Regions from separate parts of the Homo sapiens genome. Here region 2 is linked to region 1. Evidence: promoter capture Hi-C in human tissues and cell types (Jung and others, 2019). All regions are on one chromosome and are shown on one strand. Each heading gives the region's core, a stretch centred on a gene start or on the middle of the fragment in contact. The rest is flanking DNA. Distances are from core to core; before and after follow the strand shown. Region 1 holds the start of CYTL1 (cytokine like 1). Region 2 overlaps STX18 (syntaxin 18).

The links. The method cuts DNA at HindIII sites, captures the fragments that hold promoters and counts their contacts. A contact is called where the count stands out against the background at its distance.
Region 2: a fragment that was not itself captured here is called in contact with the fragment with the promoter of CYTL1 in region 1 in 1 of the 25 tissues and cell types used here (lymphoblastoid cells).

The regions. Positions count from the first base shown.
Region 1 is chr4:5,017,167-5,021,525 of GRCh38, forward strand. It overlaps CYTL1 (cytokine like 1), which reads right to left and starts at 2,292. Exons shown (of 4, transcript NM_018659.3): 1 at 2,127-2,292; 2 at 1-13. The coding sequence starts at 2,279. It also overlaps a transcript of STK32B not described here. The HindIII fragment of the contact is 2,782 bases long and covers 1,564-4,345 here.
Region 2 is chr4:4,509,348-4,513,661 of GRCh38, forward strand. The region is part of intron 1 of STX18 (syntaxin 18); the gene reads right to left. Among named protein-coding and RNA genes, the nearest start is that of STX18-IT1, 30 kb to the left of the region's middle. The HindIII fragment of the contact is 4,474 bases long and covers 515-4,314 here.

The DNA.
Region 1 (4,359 bases), core at 1,042-3,541:
TCACACATGGCTCCTGTGGAAAGGGATAAGGGGTTCTGGGATGCCCACAGGGGCATACCTGGTCACAAAAGTCTCCCTAGTGGCCCTCTCAACAGCCAGACCAGCCCAGATCCCTGGGGCCCTCCCTGATGCTACGACATGCACAGTACTTTCTTGTGTCATACGTCACACTCCTCCAGAAATGGGCGACTGCGCTTCCGGAATTAGACTTTTAGAATACAACTTTTATATCATTTGCTATGAACCAGGGAGCTGTTTTATATGCATACCCATTCAGAAATATACATACACGTATATACATAAAAGCAGTCCTATAACTGTAATATAGAAATAGTGATATATAATACAGTAATACAAGTATACATACAGAGTATATATGTACATCTATAAAACAGTTCTATAACTATTTAGTTATATAACAGTTGTATAAGTTAGTTATATAGTAACTTATATAATAATATACTTATATAATAACTTATATAAGTATATTAGCTATATAACAGTTGTATAACTGCATGTAATTATAGACATTATATATACTTACATAAGTACGATATATGTAATAATACCTATTGTTCTATAGGCATTCTATAGCTAATATGTAGTTGTATATAGTGTATAATATAGTAATATCGAAGTGCATAAATTTGCATACTTTTATATTTCTATATTGGGCTTCCGTTTTTGCGCAGGGCTGAAGGGCAAAAGCCCTCGTGCTCTGCCCTCTCAGTAATCCCCGTGTGACCATGGGCAAGTGCCTTCCTTCAGTCCTCAGTTGTGAAATTAGAGATTTAGAATGCATAATCTTTCCACTTTCTTCCCGCTCTGTGGTTCAGAGCCTCTGAACTTTTTAAACCTTTTAAAATCAGATTCCTTTAAAAGATGATTGCTGTCTATATTCGATAACAAGAAACTTGTGGGTAAATTGTGGTGAAACTGTACAACAAAATGTTAAAACAAAAATGAACTTATTTGATAGTGTCATTAAAAAGTAAGTTGCAAAACTGCTTGTGCTGTTTGACCCAAATTTTGTTTACACACACACACACACACAACACACACGTATTTGAATACCTATATGTAGACAGAAAGCTGAAATATGATCCTCCACAATGCTACGGCAGCAGCTACCTCTAGGTGGTAGAATTACAAGCAAGATTTTTTTTCTTCTTTGTACTTTATTTTCCAACTGTTCTACAAAGTACAATACTTTTATAATTAGGGAAAAAATACATGTTATTTAACTTTTAAAAAGAAAATACCAAGAAGGTGTTAGCTAGGCTTTTGTAAACCCCAACATCTGAGAAACATTATGTTTTGTTTGAAGCATTTGCAAGTGATTAAAAGACACTTTGAAACTTTACAAAAGCTTTTAATGAAGTTTAATGCATTTTGTTTCGACGGAGAAGCAGGCAGAGGCCTGGGTTCTAGTCCCCAAAAGCCCTCCCGGGTCTTCCCCTCTCTGAGTCCCCAGATCTGCCTCTGAAGATCGTGCTCACATCAGCTGGCATCTGTTGAGTACTTGTTCCTGTAGGCTTGGCTCTGTGAGCCCTGCCTGTGTTCACACCTGCCTTTGATCGTCAAAGCCACTCTAAAGGGAGGGGTGCTACTGTCATCCCATTTTACAGACAAGAAAACTGAAAGGCAGAGGCTGAGAAATTTGCCCGGGTCCCTCAGCAGATGAGGGGCGGAGGCCAGTTCTGTGAGCCACCTCTTAGGGCACACTCCTCACTAGGCTAACAAAAGCAATACACAAGCTTCATTCCTCCGTCCTCCTTAACTCTGATGGGGAGCTGTTTTTCTCCCCATCCTCCCACTCCTTTTTTTTTCTTTTTTCTTTTTTTTTTTTTTTTTTTTTTTTACATTTTACAACAGATCCTTTGATATTTGCTAGTAAGTCACAAAAATTGTGTTGTCTTTACTTTTTCTTGTGTTTTGAAGAAAGCAAACCATTGGTATCATATTTAAAAGGAGATGAATAAAACACAAATACTCCTGAGATTTACATTTACTAGAAAAGAAAAATATCCTTTTCTCTCTCTCTCTCTTTTTTTTTTCGTGTAAAGGCAAGGGTTTAAGAACTGGGTCTGCCATGCACCCCTGTCCTGAGCGGGCGGGGGACTCACCGAGGGCTCCGAGACCTGCAGGAGGTTGAAGTCGCGGGTGATCTCCTGGCTCAGGGCCCGCATGCGGGAGTAGCAGGTCGGGGGAGTGGGCCGCGCGGCGGGGGCTCCCGCCAGGAGCAGCAGCAGCACGGGCAGAGGCCCAGGCGTCCTCATGGTGCCAGGCGCTGGTGCAGCCTCGCCGACCGCCCCTTTATGCAGGCTGGGGGTGGTCCAGGGCGGCTCCACGCCTCCACTTCCTGTGGGGCCAGCGCAGGCTGCGGTCCATCCAGGGTGGCAGAGAGGAAGCCAGCACGCCCACCGGGCAGGGTCGGGACAGGAATCCTCTCAGACACGAAAGCCCCAGGTTAAGAGGAGGGGCTGCCTGGAGGAGGGGGTGACAGAGGGTGGCTTTGCCTCCCCCACACTTTCAGCAAGAAATTTCTTTCTGCACAGGGACTTTTCCTGAAAAGGCAGGAACAGCAGATGGAGAGGGGTGGGGGATAAGAGGAGGACAGAGATGGAAGGAGGGGAGGGTCAGAGGAGAGGAGTGGGCAGTCAGGCCTGGGTTTGGATGGCACGGTTTGTCAAAATGGATATAGTGCCAGGAGGGAAAGGGACTAGCAGGGGATGACTGAGCATCCCTCCCTCCAGGCAGCCCGCAGTGGAGCAGGGATGCAGAGCTGCGGTCAGGCCACCGGTGTCCTCGTCCATCAATCGCTAACCAGGTAGGTGAGCCTTGGGCCAGGGCCCCCAGCCTCTCAGAAGCCGTGTGTGTCTCTCGGTCCGGAGGATGGGCTCACTGAGCGGCCGTATGTGTGGGGAGTGTGAGTACCCCCACCCTCTTCTACCTCAAGCTCCCAGCACAGGCCCCGAGGGAGAGCAGACCCTCAGGAAGGGTTAGTTTTCAAGAAGTGCATCTCCCTCAGGGCTAACTTCCCAAGACAGTGGCAGGTAAAGGTCTAGGCTCTCCACTTAGACGCCGTGGGTGCAAAGCAGGGTCACCGCCTTCTGGCTTTGACCTTGGGCAAGTTTCTTCAGTGTTTCCTCCATCTCCTTATCTGTGAGATGAGGCTGGTGAGAGTGGCTCACTCAAAAGGCCATAGTGAGGAATCAACAGGATATAGCATGACTGAGCAAGCCTCATGCCAGGCCCATTGTGTGTTTCCAAGTGATCGGAGCTAATAGCACTGTCTCTGTTAAATCCAGCAATTGTCTCTGTGAGGTAGGTGCCACAGAAAAGAGTCCCATTTTCCAGGTGGGAAAACTGAGGCTCAAGAGTTCCAGCAACTTGCTGGAGGTCACAAAGCTGGAGGCACATGGGTTGGGATGAGACTTCAGGCCCTGTCCTCCTGCCATTCTTCCATCCCACAGGGCAGGATGGGTGAGGAGCAGGACTCTTGCAGGCAGAGATGAGTTGGGGTCCTCAGGCTGCCCAAGATCAGGCAACAAGCAAGAAGGAACTGTCAAAAGGGAGAAGATTCTTCCTTAACACTGAACATGACTTACATACCAGCAGCCACCAGGCCAGCTGCCATTGGGAACGCTATGACCCTCACAGCCAGCCAATGAAGTGAATGGGGTTATTCCCAATTCCCAGGCGAGGAAACTGAGGGCCTCGGGGGATGTGAAGCTGGGAAGAGCAGTGGAGCCCTGGAGCTATGTCTGGACTTTCCTGCCTCCAAAGCTTCCTCCAACAAAGGAGGAAAGGGGAGCATCCTGGGCAAGCTCCACATTCCCAGAACAAAACAACCAAAGATGCAGCCCACAGGGATGGGTGAACCAGAGCATGGCATCCTGGACACAGGGCTGGACTGAGGATCAACCACAGGGATGAAGCCCGGCTCCAGCTTGTCCCCACTGTATTTGCCAGGAGAAATCCCTTCTCGACCTGGCCTCCATTCCCTGTCTGTAAACAGGATAGCATCACGCTGGGCGATGTCTGAGGTTCCTTCCAGCCCCAGTGTTTTATTTATCTAGTTTCTGGTGGTAAAAGCCCTGGGCAGGGACTGTAAGCTGTGCCTTCCTGTTTTGTAGGTGAGAATGTGTTCTCTAAACACCTTTAGCAAGATGACATAGGGACCGCGGCCTTCGGGCAGAACTGTGTGTGCTTGGAGGTGGCAAGTGGAGGCACAGATGTGTTTTCTTCTGGGTGAAGGAGTCTCCACACTCCCTCCATGATAGTGCCTGGGGCATGGGCCTCCCTGGCAGAATAGCTGGCCCCAGCTGGGGACTCTAGGTCTGCTTTAAAATGCTC
Region 2 (4,314 bases), core at 1,502-4,001, 510 kb before region 1:
CATGTATATCTTCTTTTGAGAAGTGTCTGTTCATGTCCTTTGCCCACTTTTTAAAGGGTTTTTTTTTTCTTGTAAATTTGTTTAAGTTCCTTGTGGACTCTGGATATTAGACCCTTGCCAGGTGGATAGATTACGAAAATTTTCACCCATTCTTGTGACAAAAAGGCTGTCTTGTAACAAAAATTTAACTTGGAGTCGAAAGACCCTAATTTAAATGATCATGGGTTTTGGTTACAATCCAGCCATATTTTAGACAAATAATAATAAGTATAATCAATATATTAAAATCAATAATAAGTGTGTTAACAAAGTATGGTAAGTGGTGAAAGTGTTACGGGACAAAAAGCAAAAGTAATGCAAAGTAAGGGAAATCTAGGAAGAGTGTAGGGAAAAAGGTGAATTCTAATTTTCAACAGGGTGGTCAGGATGAACTTACTGAAAAGATGACATATAAGAAAATGTTTGAAGGAGAAGTAAAAGTTATGCAGGCAGGTATCTCCAGGCAAATACTTAGGGAAAATCATTCCAAGGAGAGGAAACAATAAGTACAAAGGCCCTAAGACAGGTGTGTATCAAGCATGCGTGAAGAACAGCAAGGAGACTGACTGTCTATTAGATACTCAGGTAACAGAAATAATGTCAGGTAGGTAGACAACTATAGATGTTTCTAAGTGTAGGGTTTCAAAGAGGTCTGACCTGGAAATATAAATCTGGGAGTTTCTGGACTACAGAGAATATTTAGAACTAGGGGGCTGCAGGAAATCACCACGCATCGTTTTATGAGCATTTTATAATGGGTGCCTACTATGTGTCAACTGTGTGCAAAGGAGAGAGACACAAAGAGAAACTCAGCTTCACAAAATACTCTGCTAGTTTAATTTTAGTTTAACCAAAGCAATGGAGGAAGGCAGAGGAAGAGAAACACAGATCATCCCCAGTCATAGTTTTTTAAAAAAATTAGTCAAAGAAAGTTAAGAAAAAAAGATTGTGTGTAAAATATAAGTAATCTTAAATCTGGGTCTTAATCTAGGTGATTAACTGCAGGTACCTGCTACATGTCTCAGATCCTCCTTGTCAAGTTATTCATTAACATTCTTTTCATCAATCTGTCCATCAAGAAATCCATGACATGCAATTATTAAAAAGTCAGGAAACAGAGATGCTGGAGAGGCTGTGGAGAAATAGGAACGTTTTTACACTGTTGGTGGGAGTGTAAATTAGTTCAACCATTGTGGAATACAGTGTGGAGATTCCTCAAGGATCTAGAACCAGAAATACCATTTGACCCAGCAATCCCATTACTAGGTGTATACCCAAAGGATTATAAATCATTCTACTATAAAGACACATGCACATGTATGTTTTTTGCAGCACTATTTACAATGGCAAAGACATGGAACGAACCCAAAGGCCCATCAATGATAGACTGGATAAAGCAAATGTGGCACATATACACCGTGGAATACTATGCAACCATAAAAAAGAATGAGATCACGTCCTTTGCAGGGACATGGATGAAGCTGGAAGCCATCATTCTCAGCAAACTAACACAGGAACAGAAAACCAAACACCACTTGTTCTCACTCATAAGTGGGAATTGAACAAGGAGAACACATGGACACAGGGAGGGGAACAACACACACTGGAGCCTGTTGTGGGGTGGAAGACAAGGGGGAGGGAGAGCATTAGGACAAACGCCTAATGCATGCAGGGCTTAAAACCTATATGACGGGTTGACAGGTACAGCAAACCACCATGGCACATGTATACCTATGTAACAAACCTGCACATTCTGCACATGTATCCTAGAACTTAAAGTAAAATTTAAAACATTTAAAAAAAGAAATCCATGCCATGGCTTGAATGTAGGTTGGAAGATGAATCAAAGGTACAATGCATTCTGACAGTTTCAAAGAGGAATGCAGCTTGTCCAGCCTACGCTAATGTGGACTCTCACAGTTCCTTGTGCCAGCAATGCTTTATCAAGGACTTCATATGACAGCTATGTTTTGTTCTATGAAACTGAACACTTGATTTTTATCATAATCATTCCTAAAAATAGTGATTTCATCTCTAATACATGAGTTGAATATTAATCGTAAAACAAATCTTAGGGAGGACAGCATAATTTTGATGCAATCCTAGTAGCAATTTCTGAATAGCCTTTGCTTCAATAGTTTGGAATATGTATTGTTTAGGTACCCAAGGCAGTCTAGAAGTAGCTATTTGAATCTATGTGGTAGGGGAATCAATAGTCCTTCTAAACCTGGGTGATGGCGTATTTGTATACTAGGGCAGCTATAAACTGAAAAATCTTAAATATGGGACTGAAAATACATACAATCACCAAACAACACTCATGATTAGTGTGTGTGTGTGTGTGTGTGTGTGTGTGTGTGTGTGTGTGTGTGTGTATGCCCCTAGGTTAAGGTCCTCTTAAGCATAAACTAATTCTAGCTAGCTTTCCAAAACAGAAGGAGAGGAGATTTGAAAAATACTAAGGTAATGTATGAAGGATGGGTTAAAGTTCAGGTTTTATCAACCTAAGCCCTATTGACATTTTGGGCTGGATAATACTTTGTCTGGGGGCGGAGGTGGGGGTGTTTGTGGGAGAGCTGTACATTGTAGAATGTTTAGCAGCATTCCTGGCCTCTTTCTGCTAGATGCCAGTAGTAGCCCCCTAGCTGTAATAACCAAAAATGTCTCCAGATATTGGCAAATATCCCCTAGAAGCAAAATTGCACGAGCCACTGGTTTAAATGATCAAAAGATGGGAACGGCAAGGATACAGCTAGCCTCTGCAACAACTAAACCAGATATTTAAAACTCCTCTAGAACTCTCTTAACTCCTACTTGTTTTGTCTGCATTTTAGCCTTAATTTTCTCATTGCAGCTCAGCAATGAAAACTGGCCACCAACAGCTCCCGAGCTTTGTTTGCTGAAATCCAGGCCTCTGGACTAAGAATAATTCTTTTTCCTAATTCCAATTAAAAAAAAAAATCTTAGGAAAGGATTCTGATTGGCCTGATTTGAGTCTGGTTGCTACCCCTGGTCCATGACCTAGAGAGTAGAAGATACTATGGAAACACAGCAGCTTGTACTGAAACCACTTGATTGAAGCCAGAGTGGGGATGAGTTCCCAGGAAGAAGGCAGGCACTATTGTTGACAGAAGGGTGGTTTCAGGACCAAGAATAGGTATGTGCCACAATCATCTACTGCTGATTAACAAGCACACCATAGAGCAAACAGCCAGGACATTACCAGTCCTGTATAATACTGAACTAGATTTGCTTTTCTGCATTTGAGGCACGTTTGTGAGTTAGGTACTCTGGGAAGCATGAGTTGGTAAGCAGGTAAGCAGAATACACAATATCTAAGCTTGAAGGCTTTTTCACCAACGTATCTTACAGTGACTTCCTGGATGACACATTTAAGTAACCCACAGATGAAAACTGGGAATATTGTTACTAAATATTGCTCAAAGTTAGACATGGCAAAAAGCTGGCAGTTGGTATGCTTTGTGGGCTATTAATAAAATATACTTTTAACATGCGACTCTGCCTCAGTCAACAGAAGACCATAATTGACCAACCATTGCTCAGTTTGTGGGCTGACAGAAAACCAAATGTTTGCCTTGAAACTCCAACTGGGTTCAAGAATAAAATCCAGGAATATAATAATAATATACATATCAAACGGACATAAGGGTATTCAATTTAGAATTTAAAGAAGGAAGCAGTCTAAGCTGAAAAATTTTAAGACTTCCCAGAGAATGAGAGGAGACAGACACAGGAAATCCTTCCCTGGTTGTCTCTTTAGGAAACCTCAGAAATTCGGTTCTATGTTAAGTAAAGAAGTACCTGTACTTTGAGAGTGGAGATTCTGATAGAGGGGGGGACCCTCGTCTGGCCTGGATCTCAAATCTCAGCTTTGCCTTAGGCAAGCCAGAGCTCATGGGGTTTCCCATTCATCTGGGATCTTCCAGTAGAAGTAGACTCAAGCGCCTGATTACAGCTTTATCCCAGAAGCAGCACCACTTTATCCAGCCAGGAGCCAATCATAACCAAAGGATAGAGAAACAGGTTTGAAGAAGGAAAGGAAAGTGTGGGGGATTTCAACCAACAGAGTCACAGACTGCTTCGTGGAAGTCATCTAATGGTCATGGCCCTCACTGCTCTGTTCTTGGATCTTATGGTTGCTTTTAGAGGCCACATTCCCCGGTGAGCAACATACTCAAATAGACACTACTGTTTTCAAAAGTAGATTATTTAAATGTGACACACTGAAAATCTCTAAAATCAGGTTAGTAAAAA